Linked DNA regions of Homo sapiens: region 2 is linked to region 1. Evidence: promoter capture Hi-C in 16 types of primary human blood cells and fetal thymus (Javierre and others, 2016). All regions are on one chromosome and are shown on one strand. The core of a region is centred on a gene start or on the middle of the fragment in contact, and the rest is flanking DNA. Distances in the headings are between cores, read along the strand shown.

Region 1 (5,551 bases), core at 1-2,500:
GCTCATTGGCGGGGAGGCACCTCTTCCTTGAGTTATTGGGCTATGGAAACAGCAATCCTGCCTTCTGGTTGGGTCTCCCAAATGGGAGACATCCAAACAGAGTGATTTTTTTTTTTTCTTAAACAATGTCAAACCCGAGGTTCTTAACATGGGGCTTGAAGATTGCTGTCTACGTTAGTTTCCCATAGGTCCTGGGGCCCCAGGGAAGCAGAGCCATTCTAGGAGAAGCTGAGAAAGATCTTGAGTGAAGAGGTTCTCTGAGGAGACTCAAAAGTGACTCTGCATTTGGTTGACAGTGACCCTCGAGGCAGAGCAGGTATTGGGCAACATAAAAGTTGTGAGGAGTAAATGAGAGGCATGGGAAAACATGTTTTCCTAGGGCTAGGTAAGAACCCAACCATGGCCCAGCTCTCCAACCCTTAGGCCAGAAAGCACCTCCTCATGGTCTTGGGACATGCTCAAAGCCTCCCAGCTGAGTAGCAACAGAGTGGCTTTAGAACTAGGTCTCCTGATTCCTGGGGTTTTTTTCCTCACCATCCTGCCATTTTCCAGATATGGATCTCATCGGAGAGTTCCTGACTTGTCAAATCCTGGAACTCTCCTTTCAAGGACGAGTCCTGTTGGCCAGGCAGTCCTGGGCTTTTCTGGTTCTGATGGGTGGCCTTTTTTGCCTTCCAGTGCCAAGTGTCTCCTTGCCCCTATCCATCCCCTTCCTGGGAAAGATCATCTGGGGTCTTCAGTGGCCTCGTGGAGCCTCATGGCCATGGTGGGGAGTGATGCGCAGCCTGGTGCTCGGGCCAGGACCAGACCTCCCATGGACAGTGGGCACGTGCCTTAGCATCTGGGCATGCTGATCTTTTTCTCCAAGAGGGCAGTGTGGGGGTAGAAGGGGGTGGAATCCGGAGACTTCTCTCCATAAGAATTCCTGCTCTCCCCCTCAGTCTGACCCTTGCTTTGCCTGTCTGGGCCACGGCAATGCCCTCAGGCAGAGCAGTGGGAAGAGGAGGAGAGGGTTTGCTCAGCTGGCGGGACTCTGGGAGCACGAGCCCTGCCAGCCCCTCCTCCGCAGGCTGCCTCCACTGGCTCCTCTCCTGCTTCTGCCCGCCTGTCCCTCTGGGCTGCTCGGGCGCCACCACTACTGTCCCCATCCCGCCCCGCCAGCTGGGCCAAAGGGTGACTTGACTCACGACGCTGCCACCAGCCCACGGCTTGCCCGAGGCGTATAAAGGCTGCCAGGGCCGCAGGCTGCCAAGCCCTGCCCTGCCCAAGGCGCATAGAGCATGGCCCGAGGCGCTGAGGGAGGCCGTGGGGACGCGGGTTGGGGCCTGCGTGGCGCCCTGGCGGCCGTGGCGCTGCTCTCGGCGCTCAACGCTGCGGGCACGGTGTTCGCGCTGTGCCAGTGGCGCGGGCTGAGCTCGGCGCTGCGGGCTTTGGAGGCGCAGCGGGGCCGGGAGCAGCGCGAGGACAGTGCCCTGCGCTCCTTCCTGGCCGAGTTGAGCCGCGCGCCGCGCGGGGCGTCCGCACCACCCCAAGACCCGGCCAGCTCAGCTCGCAACAAGCGCAGCCACAGCGGCGAGCCCGCGCCGCATATCCGCGCCGAGAGCCATGACATGCTGATGATGATGACCTACTCCATGGTGCCGGTAGGCGGGGTCTCTGTTCCCCGTGGCGCCCCGGCCAGGTGGGCGGCTGGGGGTGTGGGGCGAGGACGCCGACGCCCTCTTCTCCCCTGGCCAGGCTGCGAGGTGCTGCGGAGAGGGCTGTGGGCATGAGTAGCTGGGGATGTCACCTTGGCAAGCACCTCAACCCACTGGAGTCTGTTTTCTCATCTGTGAGGTTGGGGACAGGGTGAAGGAGGGAGTCTCTTCTACCTCTGACATTCTTTGAGTCCACATGTAAACGAAGGGCGAAGGCAGTGTTTCTAAGAGCCTATTTTCCTTCTCAGCTTAGACAAGTTTTCGTCTCCTGGTGTGAATGGAGCCGCAGCAGCCTTGGGGCTCCGCCTGTGCCACTGACCTGTGGGTGGGGCCCTCTGAGAGGATGGAGGCGCGTTTCTGAAAGAGCGTAGGCTTTTTCAATAAAGGGATTCTTTCCCTGGCATCAACTAGTGGTCTGGCTTTTCACCTGGCATCGCCTCATTCCTGCGAGATGGCCGGCCTAATTGTTTCCGTTTAAGTGAAAACAGCCCTAGTTTTACTGCCCACCTGGGACCTAGATGCTGGGAAAGTTGCCCCTGGATCTCAAGCAATTCCAAATGAGGGACGTCAATATGGTGCAATTTTTTTCTTAAAATGCAGTGTCAAAGCTGAGGTTCTTAACATGGGACCTGCGGATTGGTCTCCCCACTGGGCTCCAGGGAGTACACGGAACTGCAGAAATTGCCAAGTGTGTGTGCCTGTGCCCTCCTGCCCATGTGGATGAGGGTCTGCAGCTTTTCACTAGATCTTCAAGGGGTCCCCCATTGCATGCCTCCCCCAAAAGGTTTAAGAAACACTGCTCTGAAGAAAGTCTTCAAAGCCTCAAAGATTTGTTTTCCAGTGTTAAGTTTCTTTGCTTTTGCCGCTTTTAATTCAATAGGTATTTAACAAATACTATTAGATCACATTGCAGTTCCCCATTCCATTTCATTATTTATTACAATTGCAACAGTCTTGTTTCACTTTATAATTAGAAAGATTTCGGCTATTACCTCCAGTCAAGTGTGAGCCATACTTCAGAATCCTAGGTATTTGAAAATAAATTGACTTAAACTTCCGTTATCACAGAAGCTTTTAAATAACTTACATGAGCTGAAATGCTTTTAAAACTACGTAAAAGTACTACATACTTCAAATACATCTTTTGAGAGAGATCAAGTTTTCCATTCCTCACTTCATTTGTTTTTTAAATTCATGTTATCATTTAAAAATCTGGACCTAAGCAGAAGTTTCAAAAAAGGACTGCTATAAGATGAAAAAAACCTCCTTAGGGGAATTCATTCTCGCCCTTTCAGCTCTCTACCCTACATTTTAAGGCTTTTAAAAAATCCTCAAAAAGGGATACATCTGAGCATCATTGTTTTACATTTTTAATCCTGCTTTTAAGGTAGAAGCTTTCGTATCCGAATTGCAACCTATTCCGTCACTAACAAATTGAATGGAGACACTCATCTCTGTGTCAAATTAACTCTAGGTGACCTCGCAGTGCTACCACTAACTCTGTTACAGGTCAGAGAGCAGAACTATCACATGTGTCAGACTGGATATTATTAGTAGATTATCATCAACTAACTCATCCCCCACCTGCAATGGGTATGTTTTGACCTTTTAGAGTCATGAGGGCCTGTCCCTGAGGCTAGGAGAAGGCAATCATCTTACTACTCACTTTCCTCTTGGGAGCAGTTCTCAAACAGTAGGCTTAGGAATCAGCTGGAAGCATATTACAGTGCAGATTCCAGGGCCTCTCCCTCAGACCTATAGAATCCTCTCCAGAATCTGCTTTATTAGAAGTCCTCTGACCCTCATCCCCCCACCTCCTATGCCATTGGTGAGTTCGGTGCAGATGGTCCAGGCACCACACTTTAAGAAATACTACTCAGTCTCTAACACTGAGTCTTTATTGTGCACAGGAATATCTTGGGGATCTTGTTAATATGCAGATTCTGATTCAGATGGTCTAAGCTGGGGCCTAAGATTCTGCGTTTCTACCAAGCTCCCACTGCTACCAATGCTACTGGCCTGAAGACCACATTTTGAGTAGTAAGGTTGCCTACTGGAACTATTTGGGGAGCTTTCAAACTTACTGATGCCTGAATCCCATCCCCAGAGATTCTGAATTAATTTGTTAGGCCACAGCCTGGGGATGGAGTGCTTATTCTCCAGCAGGAAGGACCTTGGCATAACTTCCTATCGATAGTAGCTGTGTTAGGCATCACACTCCCACCAGACCCCATCAAGGCCTTTGCTTCAGGACGAGGAGCCAATTTTATTACTGAAAAGCTTTTTAATTTATGACAGCAATATTCTTTCCATTCAGCTTCACAGTTTTCCTCATCTTTACTCTCTGCTTTTCTCAGAACAATTATTCATATAAGAAAACAATTTTATAAAAAACATCATTTGGTAGCTCTTGGAGAGAAGTTAAGAGAATGATCTAGTATATATCGTGGAGGCAAGTGTATACACTTCTTATAGGTGAAGGCTACACCTTCCCTGGCCCTTTTATACACCACCAGATCTTGAATGAGAGTGAGATCCAAGGTCCTCACTGTGAGGTCTTATGTCCTTAGAGGTCTAGGAACGAAGAAACAAACTCTATGCAGACTAATGTCAACATTTCAAAAAGCCTTCCAGAATGGTTCATTTATCCAAGATGAACCTCAATTTAACTGATACTTTGAGTTTCTCTACTGTTGGCTGAAAATACATCAACTCAGCATAAGAATTCTGTTTAGCTGAGCACATTCTTACCAGAACCTGGTTGGCAGCTGTAAATGACTTCATTAAAAAGGCAAGATAATTATTAAGTACAGTTAATTTGACACAGCCAAGAAGCACATTAAATCTTTAAAACCATGTGCATACTTTTGGGAGACAGTAATAAGAGGAGCCCTGGATGGGGCTTGGAAACTACTGAATTAGGCCAATAAGGAAATGGGGATCTGGTGAGCGGGGAGAGAGAAAATTTGACCCATCTGCTACTAACTCCTGTGGGAGATGCTACTTCTGTTTACTCTCTTTTTCTCTGACCTCCTCTCATATTCTTTTTGTTCTCTTCCCATCAGCTACCCTCTCTCATTCCTCTCTTCCTGTCTCACATTTGCTGATGTTCTGGTAGCTTTATCATCCTGTCTTTACTTGTCCAAAATCTAGGGTCAAGCACCCAGAGGGAGTTTCATAAATATTTTCATAAATTAAACAAACATAGAGAAGATATAAGACACTGAGACTGGTGATTACGTATCCATGATAATTGTTGTCCTTGAGGGACTGTATGCATTTCTACGCCCAGGATATTGTTCAAAATGTCCTTGGCACCTCTCTAACAAGAAAATCAGCCTGGCTACTTTAAAGCAGGAGTTACAATTCAAATGTTCTTTTAAGGAAGGCAAATATGATTCCATAATAGTCAAATGATGAAAAGGCATTTGATAAAATTTAACATCAATGCTTGATTTTTAAAACATGCAATAAAATGGGAATCAATGTATTCTTTCTTAACATGATAAAATGTAATTGTGTCTCACCCCCAAAACTATAGCTTTCCACTGAACTGTCAAATCCTGGAGATGGTCCTACTAAAATCAGTATTAAGACAGGGATGCCCACTATCACCAATAGTATCTCGAATTGTCCTAGGAGGACCAGCCAGAGCAACAAGACAAGGGAAAATGGTCTAAATATGTTAAGAAGTGAGAGTCTGGCTATATTCAGATCATACGATTATATACCTGGAAAATCTGTTGATAACCTACTACTAAAAATAACAGAATTCAGTGGGAAACAAGGTATTAAAATATTACTAAGAAATCAATAGACTTCTTATACCCAAACAATCATCTGTTGAAAGATAT
Region 2 (5,551 bases), core at 1,656-4,155, 160 kb before region 1:
AACTACAAACCACTGCTCAAGGAAATAAAAGAGGATACAAACAAATGGAAGAACATTCCATGCTCATGGGTAGGAAGAATCAATATCGTGAAAATGGCCATACTGCCCAAGGTAATTTATAGATTCAATGCCATCCCCATCAACCTACCAATGACTTTCTTCACAGAATTGGAAAAAACTACTTTAAAGTTCATATGGAACCAAAAAAGAGCCCGCATCGCCAAGTCAATCCTAAGCCAAAAGAACAAAGCTGGAGGCATCACACTACCTGACTTCAAGCTATACTACAAGGCTACAGTAACCAAAACAGCATGGTACTGGTACCAAAACAGAGATATAGATCAATGGAACAGAACAGAGCCCTCAGAAATAATGCTGCATACCTACAACTATCTGATCTTTGACAAACCTGAGAAAAACAAGCAATGGGGAAAGGATTCCCTATTTAATAAATGGTGCTGGGAAAACTGGCTAGCCATATGTAGAAAGCTGAAACTGGATCCCTTCCTTACACCTTATACAAAAATCAATTCAAGATGGATTAAAGATTTAAACGTTAGACCTAAAACCATAAAAACCCTAGAAGAAAACCTAGGCATTACCATTCAGGACATAGGCGTGGGCAAGGACTTCATGTCCAAAACTCCAAAAGCAATGGCAACCAAAGCCAAAATTGACAAATGGGATCTAATTAAACTAAAGAGCTTCTGCACAGCGGGGGAAACTACCATCAGAGTGAACAGGCAACCTACAACATGGGAGAAAATTTTCGCAACCTACTCATCTGACAAAGGGCTAATATCCAGAATCTACAATGAACTCAAACAAATTTACAAGAAAAAAACAAACAACCCCATCAAAAAGTGGGCGAGGGACATGAACAGACACTTCTCAAAAGAAGACATTTATGCAGCCAAAAAACACATGAAAAAATGCTCATCATCACTGGCCATCAGAGAAATGCAAATCAAAACCACTATGAGATACCATCTCACACCAGTTAGAATGGCAATCATTGAAAAGTCAGGAAACAACAGGTGCTGGAGAGGATGTGGAGAAATAGGAACACTTTTACACTGTTGGTGGGACTGTAAACTAGTTCAACCATTGTGGAAGTCAGTGTGGCGATTCCTCAGGGATCTAGAACTAGAAATACCATTTGACCCAGCCATCCCATTACTGGGTATATACCCAAAGGACTATAAATCATGCTGCTATAAAGACACATGCACACGTATGTTTATTGCGGCATTATTCACAATAGCAAAGACTTGGAACCAACCCAAATGTCCAACAATGATAGACTGGATCAAGAAAATGTGGCACATATACACCATGGAATACTATGCAGCCATAAAAAATGATGAGTTCATGTCCTTTGTAGGGACATGGATGAAATTGGAAACCATCATTCTCAGTAAACTATCGCAAGAACAAAAAACCAAATACCGCATATTCTCACTCATAGGTGGGAATTGAACAATGAGATCACATGGACACAGGAAGGGGAATATCACACTCTGGGGACTGTGGTGGGGAGGGGGGAGGGGGGAGGGATAGCATTGGGAGATATACCTAATGCTAGATGACGAGTTAGTGGGTGCAGCGCACCAGCATGGCACATGTATACATATGTAACTAACCTGCACAACGTGCACATGTACCCTAAAACTTAAAGTATAATTAAAAAAAAAATAATAATAATAATAAATATTTTATCAAGGCACATGTTGGATATTTGCCCAATATAAGTTGTTGGTCTTTTCATCAGATCACTGTCTGAAAACACCAGCTCTCTTGCGCCTTCTCTTGTTTATGTACACGTTGGCTCTAGCGTCACTGTTACAATCTCTCTTTATTGTCCTTTCTTCACTAGGTCACACTGCCCTGCATGTGCTCCCCTGCTGCATATACACATTGTGACTAAATATCATTTAGTCTTGTTTTCACATCTGTCTTAAATGTCTAAATCCCCAACTTAACTCTTTCTCATTTAACCTTTTTATAGGTAGAATTGTTTCCCGTATAGAGTTCACTTTTCTTCTCTAGGGGAAGGTAACTTTTTTGAGCTTCCTATTTATAGTCATTAAGGTTCAAAATTTATAGCATTAGATGCTAGCTTGCAGAAAAATGGAAGGGAGGTGAATGATTTTTGCCTGGTTGAAGTGAAAATGCTTCTGTCTGGTAGAGGAGGGAACCCCAAGAGTGATGGTTTTATTGCTATGTAGGGCATTAACTAGTTTCATATCTAATTTAGCAATCTCATTCCCCTGTTCTCTTTTTATCACTGACTCTCTATATATATCATTTCCTTGTGTCATCCTTTGAGCCAGTTTTTTTCATCCTGCCTTCTCTCATTAATGAATTATGTAAATCTTTTGACACATGCTCCTTATATATTTATATGAAAGTTACATTTTTAGCATTTTGAAATTATACTTTGACACCCCCAAATGTGACTGAGATTGAGTTTCTCACCACTCCGGAGAGTCGTCAAAGCTGGATTATTCTGAGTTAGAAAAATGAAGTAGTCTGGAATTCTTGCTCCTGAGTGTGGTGGTTTAAGGACCAGTTTTAAGAGTGGGAAATTATCGGGCCAGGGAGCCGCCCCTAAATCTCTCTCGAGGGCAATGTTTAAAGCTTAAAAAAATAAAATGGAGTGGGTGGGATGGTGTTCCACTGTGCAGTGCATATTACATATTTATTCATTTATCCAATCAATTTACTCACCCACCACACGTTTATTGAGCATCTACTATTTGCTAGGCACCGTTCTAGAATCTAAACGATGGTTTTGGGAAGACAGAAGTGAAAGTTCTGTTCTCCAGAAATCCCCAGAGTAATGTGGTGGGTAGAGGCCTAAGAGGTCAGTGATGTAAGCATGGTGGTCAGTGCATAGAGGGTTATGAGAACAACATGGTGTGGGTGAGAGCATGGGGATCATGGGAGCCTGCAGCACTGGCTCCTGACACATCCTGAGAGGTGGCTCCAACTGAGTCTTAATGTAGGAGTAGGACTTAGCCACATATGAAACTGAGAAAAGACCATTCTGGGCAGAAAAGCATTGAAGAAAGGATGGAAGAGAAAACATCTTTGGATGTGTGGATGTGTACGGAGGTCCTTGTCCCCAGAGCATCAGGTGTGATCAAGGAGTGGCATGTGCTCCATAAATAAGCTTTTATTTATGGTTAATTTTAGGTGTCAACTTGACAGGGCTTGGAATGCCCATATAGCCAGTTAAACATTATTTCTGGGTGTGTTTTGAGAGTGTTTTCAGATGAGAGTAACATCTGAATTGGTGGGCTGAATAAAGCAGATCATACTTCCCAAGGTGGGTGGGCCTTATCCAACCCCTTGAAGGCCTAAGTAGAACAGAATGGCAGAGGAAGGTCGCATTCTTTCTCTTTGCCTAACTGCTGAGCTGACACATTTGTCTTCTCCTACCCTTAGGCTGGGACTTGCACCACCAGAGTGGCTGGTTCTCAGGTCTTTTGACTAAAGTTTACACCCTTGGCTTTCCTGGGTAAGGAGGAAAACTTGCAGATGGCAGACCATGGAACTTCTTAGTCTTTATCATCATGTGAACCAATTCCTTATAATAAATCTCATTTGAGAATCTATCTATCTATCCTCCCTCCTATTGATTCTGTTTCTTTGGAGAACTCCAACTAATACAACTTGTATTCTTAATTGATGTTCTCCTCTACCTCTACCATGTGCTCTTTTTTTTTTTTTCCTTCTATCTTGTGGACATTCCTCTCTGCCAATGGAAGGGAGGGAATGAGAACAATTCTTCTCTTTTCTAATGGCAATTAGGGAAGAGTTAGCATCTTCTTTGAGGGGAAAGAATCAGAAAACAAGCAGCAGCACATTTCTGGTTTCACCTTCAAAGGTCTCTTACACAGAAGAAGAGTTTTCAAGAATTACATGAGCATATTTCCCAGCCCCTCATATTGGAAATAATTTTCATGACTTTGGGGAAAATAACTTGAGTTTCCAGCTCAATTCTCTAGTTCCAGAAATCACAAGGGAACCAGTTTCAATTAACATGTCTAGTTGTCTACTGAGGAGGCCAATGAGGACTGCCGCCAAGAGGCAGTTGGCTGCAGGGACTCCGTTCCCCCAAACTTGGCTCAGCATCCAGCTGACACCCATGGACAACCCACTTTCAATGGCCCAGAACTCTGGAGGCCCACTATATAACAGATGGTGGGGCTGGGGTGGTGAGGGGTGAGGTGGTGTGAGGCTGAGAACTCCTGCACCTGGGCAAGTTGGGAGGAGAAAGAGCCGGCTGAGATCACTCCTCAAGTGGAATAGGATGGATTGACTTCTTTGATTACAGCTAGCACCAGTGTCTGCAGTCTACAGGAAGGGTGCTGCATGTCTCCCACATGTCCAGACGGAGGCAGTGAGAGGAGGAGGGAAGCTGTGCCTCTCTGGATGGGATTTCAGCAGGTTGGAGAGTGCAGGTCTTTTGGGTGTCATGTGTGGTCATTCCAAGTTGCCTCTTTAGGTTCCGTATCAGTTGGGAATTGAGTATGTCTATGTATTAGTTATTTATGACTGTATAATAAATTTAGTGCCTTAAAACAACAATAAACATTTATTATCTCACACAGTTATTATGAATCAAAAGTTTGGGAGCAGCTTACTTGGTGGTTCTGACTCAAGGTCTCCAGTGGGATTGTGCTCAAGATGTTACTGGGGTTTCAGTTGTCTGAGAGCTTCATGAGCCAGGGGCTCTGCTTCCAAGTGTTCATTCACAGGGCTGGCAAGTTGATGCTGACTATTGGCAGGAGGCCTTGATTCTTGGCCATGTGGACTTTTCTGTAGGGCTGCTTGCGTGTCCTCATGACCTGGCAGTTGCCTTCCCCTAGAGTGAGTGATCCAGGAGAAAGCAAGGCAGAACCCACCATGTCTTTTATGACCTAGAAATCACAAATTGTCATTTTCTTAATATCCTATTGGTTACACAGGTCAGTTCTATTCAACATGTGGAAGGGCTATACAAGAGCACAAATCCTCCCAGTGGTCCCAGTGAGGACCACTGGGAGCCACCTTGGAGGCTGGCTACCAAACTCCCCTAATAACAGGCCTGAAACAAGTGATAGGGCTTTATTTTTCTCCTACATAAAATAAGTCTGGAGGTGGAGATCGCTACCACAGGCACCTTTTATCTCTCTGTGCTCTCATCCTTAGGGTTGCCTCATGCTTCCAAGATGGCCTCAGCAGCTCCTGTCCTCATGTCTGAGTTCCAATTAGCAAAGGAAGGAGGAAATGCAAAAGGGCTTCCCAGATGAATCTGCTGTTTCTTTAAGGAGCTTTCCCAAATGCCTCATTCAGTAGCTTATGCCTATATATTATTGGCCAGAATTTAGTTCTGTGGCCATCCTTATCTATAGGGTAGGCTGCAGAATATAGTTTTTCTTCTGGTCACATTGAAACCCTGAGTACCAGGCTTTTGTTGGTGAGGAAGAAAGGGAAAATGGATTTGGGGAAGGCTCCCATTCTGCTCCCACCCCTTATCTAGGTCTTAAGACATCATGAGTCC

The links. Contacts are between HindIII fragments. The CHiCAGO score rates a contact against its expected background, and 5 or more counts as called.
Region 2: a fragment that was not itself captured here is called in contact with the fragment with the promoter of GLDN in region 1 in 1 of 17 cell types (M1 macrophages); the score reaches 6.3 in M1 macrophages.

The regions. Positions count from the first base shown.
Region 1 is chr15:51,340,405-51,345,955 of GRCh38, forward strand. GLDN (gliomedin) reads left to right here and starts at 1,251. Exons shown (of 10, transcript NM_181789.4): 1 at 1,251-1,643. The coding sequence starts at 1,281. RefSeq lists an enhancer at 239-602 and cis regulatory regions at 292-335, 408-432. The HindIII fragment of the contact is 3,655 bases long and covers 1-2,766 here.
Region 2 is chr15:51,177,315-51,182,865 of GRCh38, forward strand. All of the region lies in intron 1 of MIR4713HG (MIR4713 host gene), which reads left to right. Among named protein-coding and RNA genes, the nearest start is that of MIR4713, 62 kb to the right of the region's middle. The HindIII fragment of the contact is 535 bases long and covers 2,639-3,173 here.